2 separate regions of the Homo sapiens genome follow, and region 1 is linked to region 2. The links are contacts of gene promoters, found by promoter capture Hi-C in blood cells and fetal thymus (Javierre and others, 2016). All regions are on one chromosome and are shown on one strand. The core of a region is centred on a gene start or on the middle of the fragment in contact, and the rest is flanking DNA. Distances in the headings are between cores, read along the strand shown. Region 1 overlaps LDB1 (LIM domain binding 1). Region 2 holds the start of NFKB2 (nuclear factor kappa B subunit 2).

The links. Contacts are between HindIII fragments. The CHiCAGO score rates a contact against its expected background, and 5 or more counts as called.
Region 1: a contact is called between a fragment that was not itself captured here and the fragment with the promoter of NFKB2 in region 2, in 2 of 17 cell types (M1 macrophages and activated CD4 T cells). The highest score is 6.6, in M1 macrophages.

Annotation. Positions count from the first base shown.
Region 1 is chr10:102,110,958-102,116,112 of GRCh38, reverse strand. LDB1 (LIM domain binding 1) reads left to right here. Exons shown (of 11, transcript NM_001113407.3): 2 at 4,577-4,679; 3 at 4,813-4,857; 4 at 4,969-5,044; 5 at 5,142-5,155. Among named protein-coding and RNA genes, the nearest start is that of LDB1, 6.8 kb to the left of the region's middle. RefSeq lists silencers at 980-1,189, 1,300-1,449, 1,470-1,619, 1,670-1,759 and an enhancer at 4,655-5,155. The HindIII fragment of the contact is 8,794 bases long and covers 1-5,155 here.
Region 2 is chr10:102,394,448-102,399,823 of GRCh38, reverse strand. It overlaps NFKB2 (nuclear factor kappa B subunit 2), which reads right to left and starts at 4,119. Exons shown (of 23, transcript NM_001322934.2): 1 at 4,028-4,119; 2 at 3,844-3,936; 3 at 3,490-3,571; 4 at 3,335-3,375; 5 at 3,001-3,099; 6 at 2,769-2,920; 7 at 2,416-2,522; 8 at 2,139-2,297; 9 at 1,739-1,843; 10 at 1,527-1,612; 11 at 1,301-1,439; 12 at 960-1,085; 13 at 327-536; 14 at 106-247. The coding sequence starts at 3,864. RefSeq lists a silencer at 224-543 and enhancers at 1,758-2,052, 3,524-3,643, 4,054-4,103, 5,154-5,376. The HindIII fragment of the contact is 5,152 bases long and covers 1,987-5,376 here.

The DNA.
Region 1 (5,155 bases), core at 225-2,724, 280 kb after region 2:
CAGAGCCAGGTGCAATATTACTGCACAGTTAACTAGTGAGTATGTCATAAGAAATCCTGTCCTTGGAGTTATGTGTGAATATAGTTGGGGGTAGGAGACAGGAAGTAGAGAAACAGACACTCAAATTGCAAAGAAGGAAATAGAAGGTTCGTGCTCCCCCTTCCCGTGTGTGTGTGTGTGTTTGTGTGTGTGTGTGTGTACTATGTATTTTCCTTTTCCTATTTGTCCACGAGTAAGGTCTGGCCCACTACCCAAGTTTTAGAAATATTCCCTCCTGCTACAACAAAATTACCTTAGGAAAAAAAATAGAAATATCTGCTCCCTTGGGATGCCCTGCTGGATGGGAGAACAGGTCCTATCCACTAACCACACGTTTTTTTTTCTGGGGTGGTGGGGAGGATTCAGCAGCAAACTAAGCTCCTTCTGGGGACCCTTGGATGGCCAAGTTGGCTTTCCCTAGCTCTGACAATGCCTCTTTCCCTGGCACCCACTTGTCTTCAGTGGTGGTGGGGAAGGGGGCTTCCTGTTAAGGGGGATCTAAGTCAAGGCTTGGAATTTAGCTGGGTTGGGGGCAGGGAAGCCTGGAGTGTCCCCCTTCCTCCAATCAGTGTTTACAGTCTGATGTCAGAATGTGTGTCTGTCAAAAATAACCCCCTGGAGCCTCTCCCCCCAGCTGCTCCAGGATTTCACCAGGGGAGCCCAGGCTGGCAGTCCGGGCCAGCCTTCAACCTGAGCGATCACAGGGGCGAGAAAGATTTGGGGGAGGTTTGGGAGGTGCTTTGAAGATCTTGGAGTCTGCAGAGAGGAGCCCGCCCTCCTCCATCTCTGCCAGTGGCTTTGGCCCACCTGCTCACTCCTGAGCACCGTGCCTGGGGCTCGGGGGAGGCGGGCTGCATTTCGTTCCTGGCCCCCACAGGCCTCTCCTCCATCCAGGTCTCTCCTGGCCCAATCTGATCCGTCCCCTGTCTCTCCCAGTCTCTGTCTCTCTTTTGTTTTTCTCAGCAGTCCCTCCGTCCCAGCCTCCCTCCCTCCCTTGCTCTTCCTCTTTCCTCTCAGGGAGGGGGCGGGGCCGGTGGGGGCAGCTCCACCCTCCGCCCGCCCTGGGGCCTCATTCTGAGAGAGGCTCGGAGAGAGCGAGCGGGGAGGGAGGGAGGCAGGGAGAGAAAGGGAGAAAGGCAGGCAGCCGGCGGGCGCTGCGTGTGTGTTTGAGTGTGCGAGTGTGAGTGAGTGTGAGTGCCGGGTCCTGCCTCTCCTGGTGCCCCCAGCAGAGGGGCCCGGTGGCCTGGGGAGGGCGGGCGGGCTGCTCGGAGGCAGAGGCAGCAAGAGGCGGCGGCGGGGAGAGCCGAGAAGGAGGAGGAGGAGAGAGGAAAGAGCGGAGCAGCCATTGTTGAGGGAAACCTTGCAAACAAAGAAGGCTCCGGACTCCCCGCGGCCCCCCGCCCCCCAGGCCGGCCCCCTGGCCCCCGGCCCCCGGCCCAGTGGCCATTGTAACTTTCCCCCGGGACAGCGGCCGCCGCGGGGCGGGCCGAGGCAGTGCGTGCGAGTCTTTGTGCGGCCGGCGGACTGGAGCTCCCAGTCGGGCCTGCCCGTCCCACTCGGGACATGAGCTGCTGAAGTTGTCCCCCCGTCAGCCCTCACCCCTGCCAGGACTCCTCTGGGCTTGCAGTCGCTCCCCCGTACCTCTCCTGGCCCCCTCAGTTCTCCCAGGTAAGTCTGGGCACCCTGCGAGCCTGTTGGGGGTGGGCGGAAGGCCCTCAGCCCGGCCCGGGCCTGATCTGCGGGCTGGGGGAGAGGTGCCCCAGCCCAGAGCCGCCGGGGCGCTCAGGCCTGCTGACCTGTGGCCAGTCCCTAAAGGGAGGAGGCCTGCCCTCGAGTCAGCCTGGTTACCATGGCAATACCCAGCTGGAGGTGCCCCCCTCAGCCCCGGGATGCAGCTTCCACCCTGAGAAAACTTTACTAGTTCTGGGCTCTTCTCTCCCCCTTCCTAAAGGCTTCCAATTTGCTAGAGGTGGGAGGGGGGCTATGGCTGACTCCAGGGCTGGATGACACATCTCCTCCGTCCCCCCACCTTGCTGCCTCTACTCCTGCTGCTGGGGACAGGCAGCAACAGGGACAGATGGTCTGGGTGATGTCCCTCCCCTTCTCTACTCACTCCCAAGCCCTTGTGCTGGAGCCACTGGGAGTTGTGGCTCTGGAGAGATGCTGAGTTTGTGTCCATTCACTGGAGGTGTAAATAGAGGCCCAGAGCTTTGGGCTCTAGCTCCTCAGAGCTATTTACCCAGGCCTAGACAATGCCTGTTCATTCTCTAGAGAGAGAAATGGAGGCTCTGAGAGTTTTTTTTTTTTTTTTTTTACAAAATTGGAGAGAAACCCAGGCGTCCTGCCTCCTGTCTCTTCAGGTTCTTGAGCTAACACATTTCAAGTGGCCCGGAAACTGAGGAGGCAGGGGTGGTTAAGCTATGGGAGAAAGGATGGCCTAGTTGGGGGATGAGGGCCAGGTCTGAGAATCTACTCTTGGGTTTATTGCCCAGGCCTGGCCTCTGGTGGGCTGTGTGAGTTTGGGCTTCCTGTGTGGCCTTAGTCTGCCTGTCTGTGGATTGGGGAGACTTGGTGGCTGGGTGGGGACTGTCTTTCTGGAGACACAGGCTCAGTCCAGACTGGCATGTGAAGGCTGTGTGTGCTGTTCTTGGAGCATATGGATGTGGCCCGTGAGAGCTCGTGCATGGGGTGAGGGCCTGTTGCGGGCATCTGAATCTGCCTGGGGCTGCTGGGTTCCAGCCCTTGATAGGCATGTTAGGGCGAGCTGAGGGTGAAAGCCTGCTAGGCAGGATGAGGCACACGTGTGTGCAGGCACACACAGGCTCTGACTTGGCATCTTCAGAGACTGTGCAGTCTGGGACCCTCCTTTTGCCTGCATTGTGAGGACAGGGCTCTGGGGAGAGAATTAAATGACACATGTTGGCACAGGGTCTTCTTTTGTCTCTTCCCCCCAAAGAAACAAAATAGGTTTTGTATCTAAGTTGGGGAGGAGATCTAGATACAGCCAATCTAGCTACCCTTCCAAATGCAGTCGAGTTTTAGGGACCCAAGGAAGCAAATGTGATTGGAGTCAGATGAACTTTTGGGCCTGTGCCTCAGTTTCCCCTCCTATCTGGTGAGAAGGGGAAACAGAGTTGCAGGGGTACCTGGCTCATACCCAACTATGAATTTAACACTTTTTCCAGTCAGAAAACAGTATTCCAGGAACTGTTTGCTGTTAGGTGAGGTGAGAGAGAGGACATGTGCACATCACAGATACACACTAGTGAGACCCCTGTCTAGTGACCACTTGCCCCTAGACTGAGGAACATAGGCTTCTTCCCAGACCACCTACTTCTCAATTGTAGGTAGAGTGGGATGCAAAGGAGGCTCATCTGCCTGCTTCCCCGACTCCCAAGTCTCAGAAGAGAAAAGGGGTTGAGGCTTTGGGTTTCTGGTTTGGAGACAATACTGTCTACCCTTGGGGGCGGGGGTGGGGGCTGGGCTGATAAGGGAGTGGCCGTTAGTGGGGAGGCAGAAGGCCCAACTGGTTATCTGGTAGGCCACACCCAACAGGCACCCACCCCCATTTATCTTTCCATCCCTTGCCCTCCTGAGACCCTGAGGGTGGAGGAAGGGCAGAGTTTGAAAATCCTCCCTTTTCCTCCCCCACTTTGGTCTCTAGAGGGCAATAGAGGGGTCAGATGGTAGAAAGAGTATAGGATGTGGGAATCAGAAGATCCAAGCTCAAGTCCTAGCTTTGACAGTTACTAGCTTTATGATCTTGGCAAGGTCCTTTGAGCCCTCAGTTGCCTCATCTGTAAAATGGGAATGTTATGGTCAGCCCTGCTACCTCATAAGGTTGTTTTGATGATTGAGTGAAAGTATGTAGATTAAAAGGGGGTTTATCAATATTAGATTCTAATGATTGGATATTTATTTATTCTGTAATCATTCTTCCCAGCTTCAATTCCTCTTCTGTCATCTAGGACTCAGCCAAATGAAGAAATGGGATCTTGGGTATGCGCTGGGATTAGGGTGGACTACTCTTGTTTCTTAATGAAATAAGATTGGAGCCAGAATTAGAAGGAGAGACAGGTGCTCCCTAGAGTAGCCCCCTCCCCTAGTCCACCACTCTCTTATAATCAGGCCAGGGAGCTCCATAAGACCGTCCCTATCCACACAGTCTAGCAGGATTATCGGACAGCTCCCAAGAGGGGGTCAGGGGACTCCTTTTTCTTTTTGAGACAGGGTCTCACTCTGTTGTCCAGGCTGGAGTGCAGTGGTATGATCTCCGCTCACTTCAGTGTTGACCTCCCAGGCTCAAGTGATCCTCCTGCCTCAGCCTCCCAAGTAGCTGGAACCACAGGCATGCACCACCACACCCGGCCAACTTTTCAATTATTTTTAGAGACGAGGTCTCGCTATGTTGCCTAGGCTGGTCCCTGCAGCCTCGACCTCCTGTGCTCAATCAATCTTCTTGCCTTGGACTCCCAAAGTGCTAGATTACAGATGTGAGCCACCGCGCCCAGCTATGACTCCTTTCTTTCTCGTCTAGGTTGTTCCTCAAAGTCATTCAAGCTGTACTCGCCGAAGGAGCCCCCGAACGGCAACGCCTTTCCCCCCTTCCATCCCGGCACCATGCTGGATAGGGATGTGGGGTAAGTGAGTCTCTTGGCCACTTCCTAACCCTTCTCCAGGTGGGATCCTGCCTGGAAAGGGGAGGGAGTAGCCCCCTGCCCCCAATAATTCCTATCTTCAACCCCCATTCTCATAGCCTCTTCCTTTACACAGCCCAACTCCCATGTATCCGCCTACATACCTGGAGCCAGGGATTGGGTAAGTGGAGTCCAGTGGGGAAGAAGGTGCTTTCCACTGGGTGAAGGCCGAGGTAGGGGGTGGAGGGGGCAGGCTCCGCTCCTACTGACCTCTCTCCTTCACTTCCTCCAGGAGGCACACACCATATGGCAACCAAACTGACTACAGAATATTTGAGCTTAACAAACGGCTTCAGAACTGGACAGAGGTATGGCCAAGGGAAAAGGGGCTGGGAGCAGGAGGGCCATCTGGGCACCCTATGGGATATCTTATGACACATGAACACCCGTTACCATGCTCCCTAGGAGTGTGACAATCT
Region 2 (5,376 bases), core at 2,870-5,369:
CGGACTTGAAGCCTGGCGTGTCCGAAAACTGCAGAGCCCGCCTCCGTGCCGGTCCCTTTCCTGCCCCCACCCCGCGCCTCGTCCGCCAGGCCCTCTGTTGCCTACGTGTCTCCGTTCTCGTCCTGCGCCGTCAGCAGGTGGCGCTGTCCCGCCAGCAGCGCGCGCGCGTCCGCGGTGACGCCGTAGTCGAGTAGGGCTCGGGCGCTGCGCTGCGCCAGGCCGAACAGGCGCGCGTTGTACTCTCGAGCTACGGGCCACAGAGGGCGTGGGTCAGGGCTAGGTCCTCAGCCCCGGCGCCCCGACCGCCCGTGCCCCGGAGTCCATACCTCGCTGCAGCATCTCCGGGGCCTGCGGCTCGCACTGGGGGGTCCTGGAGGGGGCGCTTGGCTCCGCGGCTTCCTCCCCGGAGTCCCTGCTGGGCACCGTGGCGGCCATCTGCGCCCCGCCCCCGCCTCCCGGGTAGCAGCCCATGGGGCCCGCGCCGGACTGGTAGGGGCTGTAGGCCAGGGAGGAGGGGAAGAAACCGAGGCTGCCACCTGTGGATACAGGCAGGGCTGTGGGAAGCGGGCACCAGCCATGACTCTCCCAGATTTTTTTTTTTTTTTTTTGAGACGGAGTTTCGCTCTTATTGCCCAGCCTGGAGTGCAGTGGTGTGATCTCAGCTTACTGCAACCTCTTGTCTCCCAGGGTTCAAGCGATTCTCCTGCCTCAGCCTCCCGAGTAGCTGGGATTACAGGCGCCTGCCACCATGCCCAGCTAATGTTTGTATTTTTAGTAGAGACGAGGTTTCACGCTGTTGGCCAAGCTGGTCTTGAACTCCTGATCTCAGGTAATCTGCCTGCCTTGGCCTCCCAAAGGGCTGGATTACAGGCGTGAGCCACCACGCCCGGCCTCCCCCAGATTTTTTTCCTCCACAGCTTCTCTTACCTTTACCCCTCCCTCCATCAGTACCCCCTCACCTCCTCCAGCTCCTCCGTAGCCCCCGGCTGCACCCCCAGAGCCTCCACCCATGTGGGAGCCACCCCCGAAGGGCTGGGAGAAGGTGGGCAAGGCCTTCCTCCGCTTCCGCTGCACCTCTTCCTTGTCTGGGGGCAGAGGAAAATGAGATTGAGCCCAGTTATTGTGTCATGCCTCAGGGGCCCTTCCCAGAAGAGCCCTCAGGGCCGGCTCCTAGGAAGCACCTCCTGGGACCCTCGCACTTCTGACTTGGCTCATGCATCCCCACATCTAGCTCTTGGGACCTTCTTCTAGCCCAGCCTGGCCCCCCGCCAGCACCCTGAGGTCCTCAGCCCAGCTCCACCTTCCACCAGAGGGTAATAGGTGAACTGTTTGGAATCAGACACGTCCCCTCCTCGCTTGCGTTTCAGTTGCAGAAACACTGTTACAGGCCGCTCAATCTTCATCTTGTGATAGGGGGGTGTCCGGAACACAATGGCATACTGGGGGGTGCAGGGAGACACAGGGTGTCAGTGAGTCCTTAGCCTAATTTAGCCCCCAGCCCGGGCCCGGGCCCTAGCCCTGGGTACCTGTTTATGCACATCTGTGGGAGAGAAGTCCCCAAAGGCCTGCCATCCATTCTCATCATCCTCATAGAACCGAACCTCAATGTCATCTACAAGGAAAACGGAAGCTTGGCCACAGCTCCCGGTGGAATCTCTGGGGCCATTTACCCTAGAGCTTCCCTGGCCCCAGTCTTATACTCGATGTCCTTGGTGCCCAAAGTGGGCTCCAGTCTCACCTTTCTGCACCTTGTCACAAAGCAGATAAACTTCATCTCCACCCCGCACAGAGCCTGCTGTCTTGTCCATTCGAGAAATCTTCAGGTTTGATGCCCCCGGAGATTCTATGGAGTGGGATATGGATTAGTTGAGATGATGCAATAGCCAAGGCCACATTTAAGAAGCTGGGGGCTTTGTATTCCTTATCTCAGCAACCCCTGGAGCTGCAGGAAACACCCAATATACACATTTACTAAAGACAGAAGCTTCGGGGGGGAAATGACTTGCTCAGGATCACTCAGCTCATATGTGGCAGGGCCAGGTTCTGAAACCTGGGTCTGTTTGACTGCACAGCTTGAGGTCACCCCTCATGCCACCTCTGCCACCAGGCCTGGCACCCCAGGCAATCAGGATACTCACTGCTGTCATGGATGGGCTGGGAGATGACTGGCTTCAGGGGCAGGGAGAAGGAGCCATCACTGGCTCTAAGGAAGGCAGAGAAGCGCAGCCGCACTATACTCAGATCCATCACCTTCTTCAGTTCTTTGGCCTCTTGCTCCAGCTCCCGCTGCTCGGCCTCTGGGCAGTAGGTACATGTGTGACCCCTGGGCTTCTCCCTCCCTGCTCCTTCCATGAGCACCTCCCATGACCCACCCACCCCCTGCACCCATACCCGACCCACCCCCTGCACCCATACCCGTAAGGCCCTGGGGCCTAGAGCGGAGCCGCTGCCTCTGAAGTTTTTGTATCATAGTCCCCATCATGTTCTTCTTAGTCACATGCAGGACACCCAGGTTGTTAAATCTGAGAAGAGAGAATCGGAGGCCTTTGGCCATGCAGTTCTTTCTTCCTGAGGCACCTTTCCCATTGCCAGGGCTCAGCTCAGCCTTACTTCCTCAAGGAAGCCATTGGAGTTTCTACTTAGGCCCTTGGGTTTGGGGCCAACCTACATCTTTCCCCTTGGTCAGATGCTAAGCTCATGGAGGTGGGCTGGGGCCTGGGACTGGCAGACGGGCATACCAGTGGGGGCCAGGCGTAGAGGGCACCTACTGGGCAGTCATGTCCTTGGGCCCCACAGAAACGGCGCAGATCCCCAGCTCCGAGCATTGCTTGCCCACCAGACTGTGGGCATGAGCACGAGGTGGGTCACTGTGTGTTACCAGGTCCACCTCGATCTTGGCTGGTCCCTCGTAGTTACAGATCTAGGAGAGGCAGGGACTGTCAGTCAGGGCCTTGGGCATGCTGTCCACTTAGCCCACCCTCCAGCACCATCCTGGCTCACCTTGACAGTGGGATAGGTCTTTCGGCCCTTCTCACTGGAGGCACCGGGCAGTCCTCCATGGGAGGGGCCTTCACAGCCATATCGAAATCGGAAGCCTCTCTGAAGGTCCAAGGGCATAGTAGCATTGTGATCAGGGAAGACCACCCAGGCCAGCAGTGACCGCAGTGCCTGGTAGTAGCCCTGAACCAAACTACAGCACTCTGATCAGCAGCAGTGACCATCCAATCCCCTGTGGCCTCCTTCGGCAATGGCTCCTCCATGGCCAGCCAGCTACCACTACCCCATTTGTCCCCAAAGCTGAAGCCATTCCACACCCTCCCTTTTGCTCACTCACCTGCTTAGGCTGTTCCACGATCACCAGGTAGGGGCCATCAGCTGGGGACAGAGAGACCTTGCTGAGCCACGATCTCCCAGCCCCTCCCCCAGAGAGAGGGCACATGCTCTCCCTCCCCCGCTTTAGGACTAGGGGAGGTTAGTGAACTTGCTGACCTGTTTCTGGGGCTGGCTCCTTGGGTTCCACAATGGAGGAGTTCAATTTGAAATCATCATATTCAATAATACCATCCAGACCCTGGTTTGGAGACAGACTGGGGGTGGCATCCGACTCTCAGCACCCCCCACAGCCCCACCTCCCATCTCCAAGTCTTCAGTGGTCACTCCCCCCTCCTCCTCAGACCCAAGAGAAAGCTCCTTTTGGAGGCAGAGTTGCAGACAGATGGACAGACTGGCAGGCTGAGAGCATCTGCGAGCATACAGGTGTAAGGCAGCAGAGGGGGCTCGGGCAGACAGGTGGACAGACACGAGGGGCAGCCGGCCGGGTCAGGGGCAGGCGGCATGACTCACTGGGTTGTAGCAACTCTCCATGTCTCTGGGCTAGGCCCGGCTCTGTCTAGTGGCTCCGGCCAGGTTCTGCTTCCCAGAATTTTAGACGCCCGCCTAAAGTTGGGAGGAGTGGCGTGGGGGAGGGGGTCAGATCTAAATGGGGGTGGGCGGGAGATGGGGGCCCAGATTTGGGGGAGGGTCCGACCTCCTCCAGCCGCCTGTCCGGGTGTGGCGGGTGAGATCCGGTGGAGAGCGAGATCCGGAGTTGGGCTTGGCCGGGGAAGGGGCAGGAAAGTTAGAGCAGCTTAGGAAAGTCCCGAAAATACCAAGGGGAGGCGGGGCCGGAGGGGGCGGGCCTGGAAATGACGCCACTGGCCCCGCCCTCGCGACGGGAGGGGCGGGAGGCCCTCGACAGTCTACGGGCTCCCGCTGCTTTTCAGCGGGCAGAGGTCTAGGAGAATCCGGGAAGCCCCGGTGGGGGTTAAGCCCCCTCCTCCCTCCAGGGCAGGGAACAGGAGGGTCTTTCACGGCCGGGAGGAGGCTGGCAGTCTGGGGCCAAGTCCGCCTCCCGCTCCCCTCCCCCGGTCTGGAGCAACCTTGGGATTTTCTGCCAGGAGGGAGGCCACGGCTGATAAACCCCGGGGGCTTTTGGGGGGACATTCCTGCTGTCGGACGGCCTCCCCTTCGAACAGCCTGTAGGCGGGGGCTCTTTCCTGTGGGAGGCCCCGGGGTTCTGCCCCGAGAACGCGATTCTGGGGCTGCGGGAAAAGTGTCTCCTCCTCGGAGTGGGCTCTTTTCTCTCTCTCCCAAACCTCACAACAGCAGCTGGTCCCACACCGCACCGGTTCTGGGCGCGCAGGCGACAGGGAGATCTCTGCACGCTCCCCCCCCCCCCCCCCCACCTAATACAAGAGTGTGTCTCCATCACAGCTCCACAAGTGTGTTTCGGCTGTAGTGCTTGGTTGCATGTTGTGTGTCCATGGCGTCAACATGAGTGTGCAAGCGAGCATGTGTGTAGATAGGTGAATCCCGAGCTTCTCAGTGTGGGTGTGTGTCAGCGCCTGTCTTGATGTACGGACACGGGTGAGCGTATCTTGAGTTTGTGCGTGAAGGGTGTGGGTGCAGGCACCAGTGCACCGGTGGGCACGTCTCCGTGTGCATGTGTGTGCGAGTGCGACTGCACGGACGCTGCCGTGTGTGCGCCAGCACAGGTACAGGTGTACGTACGGGTCCGCGTATCTTTGTACAACGGTGTCGACGTGGATCCGAGTGTCGTCGCCTGCGCGCCCTTTCCGGCTGTGTGCAGCTGCTGCTCTCCAGCCCCAGGCGCTGTCCGCTAAAGGCCCTCCTCCCTCTTTTCTCTTGTCCCGGCCACCCAGGGGTCTGAATCCAGCCACTCACCGTGGCGGCGGCTCTGGTTGCGGCTTCTCTCCGCGCCCGACCCACCTGGGACCGGTCGCGACACCTCGCCTGCCAGCAGGGCTCAGGGCCGGGAAAGCCCCTTCTCGGCCCCCCGGAGGGGGGAATTCCCATGACGTTTCCGTGCGTCACGCC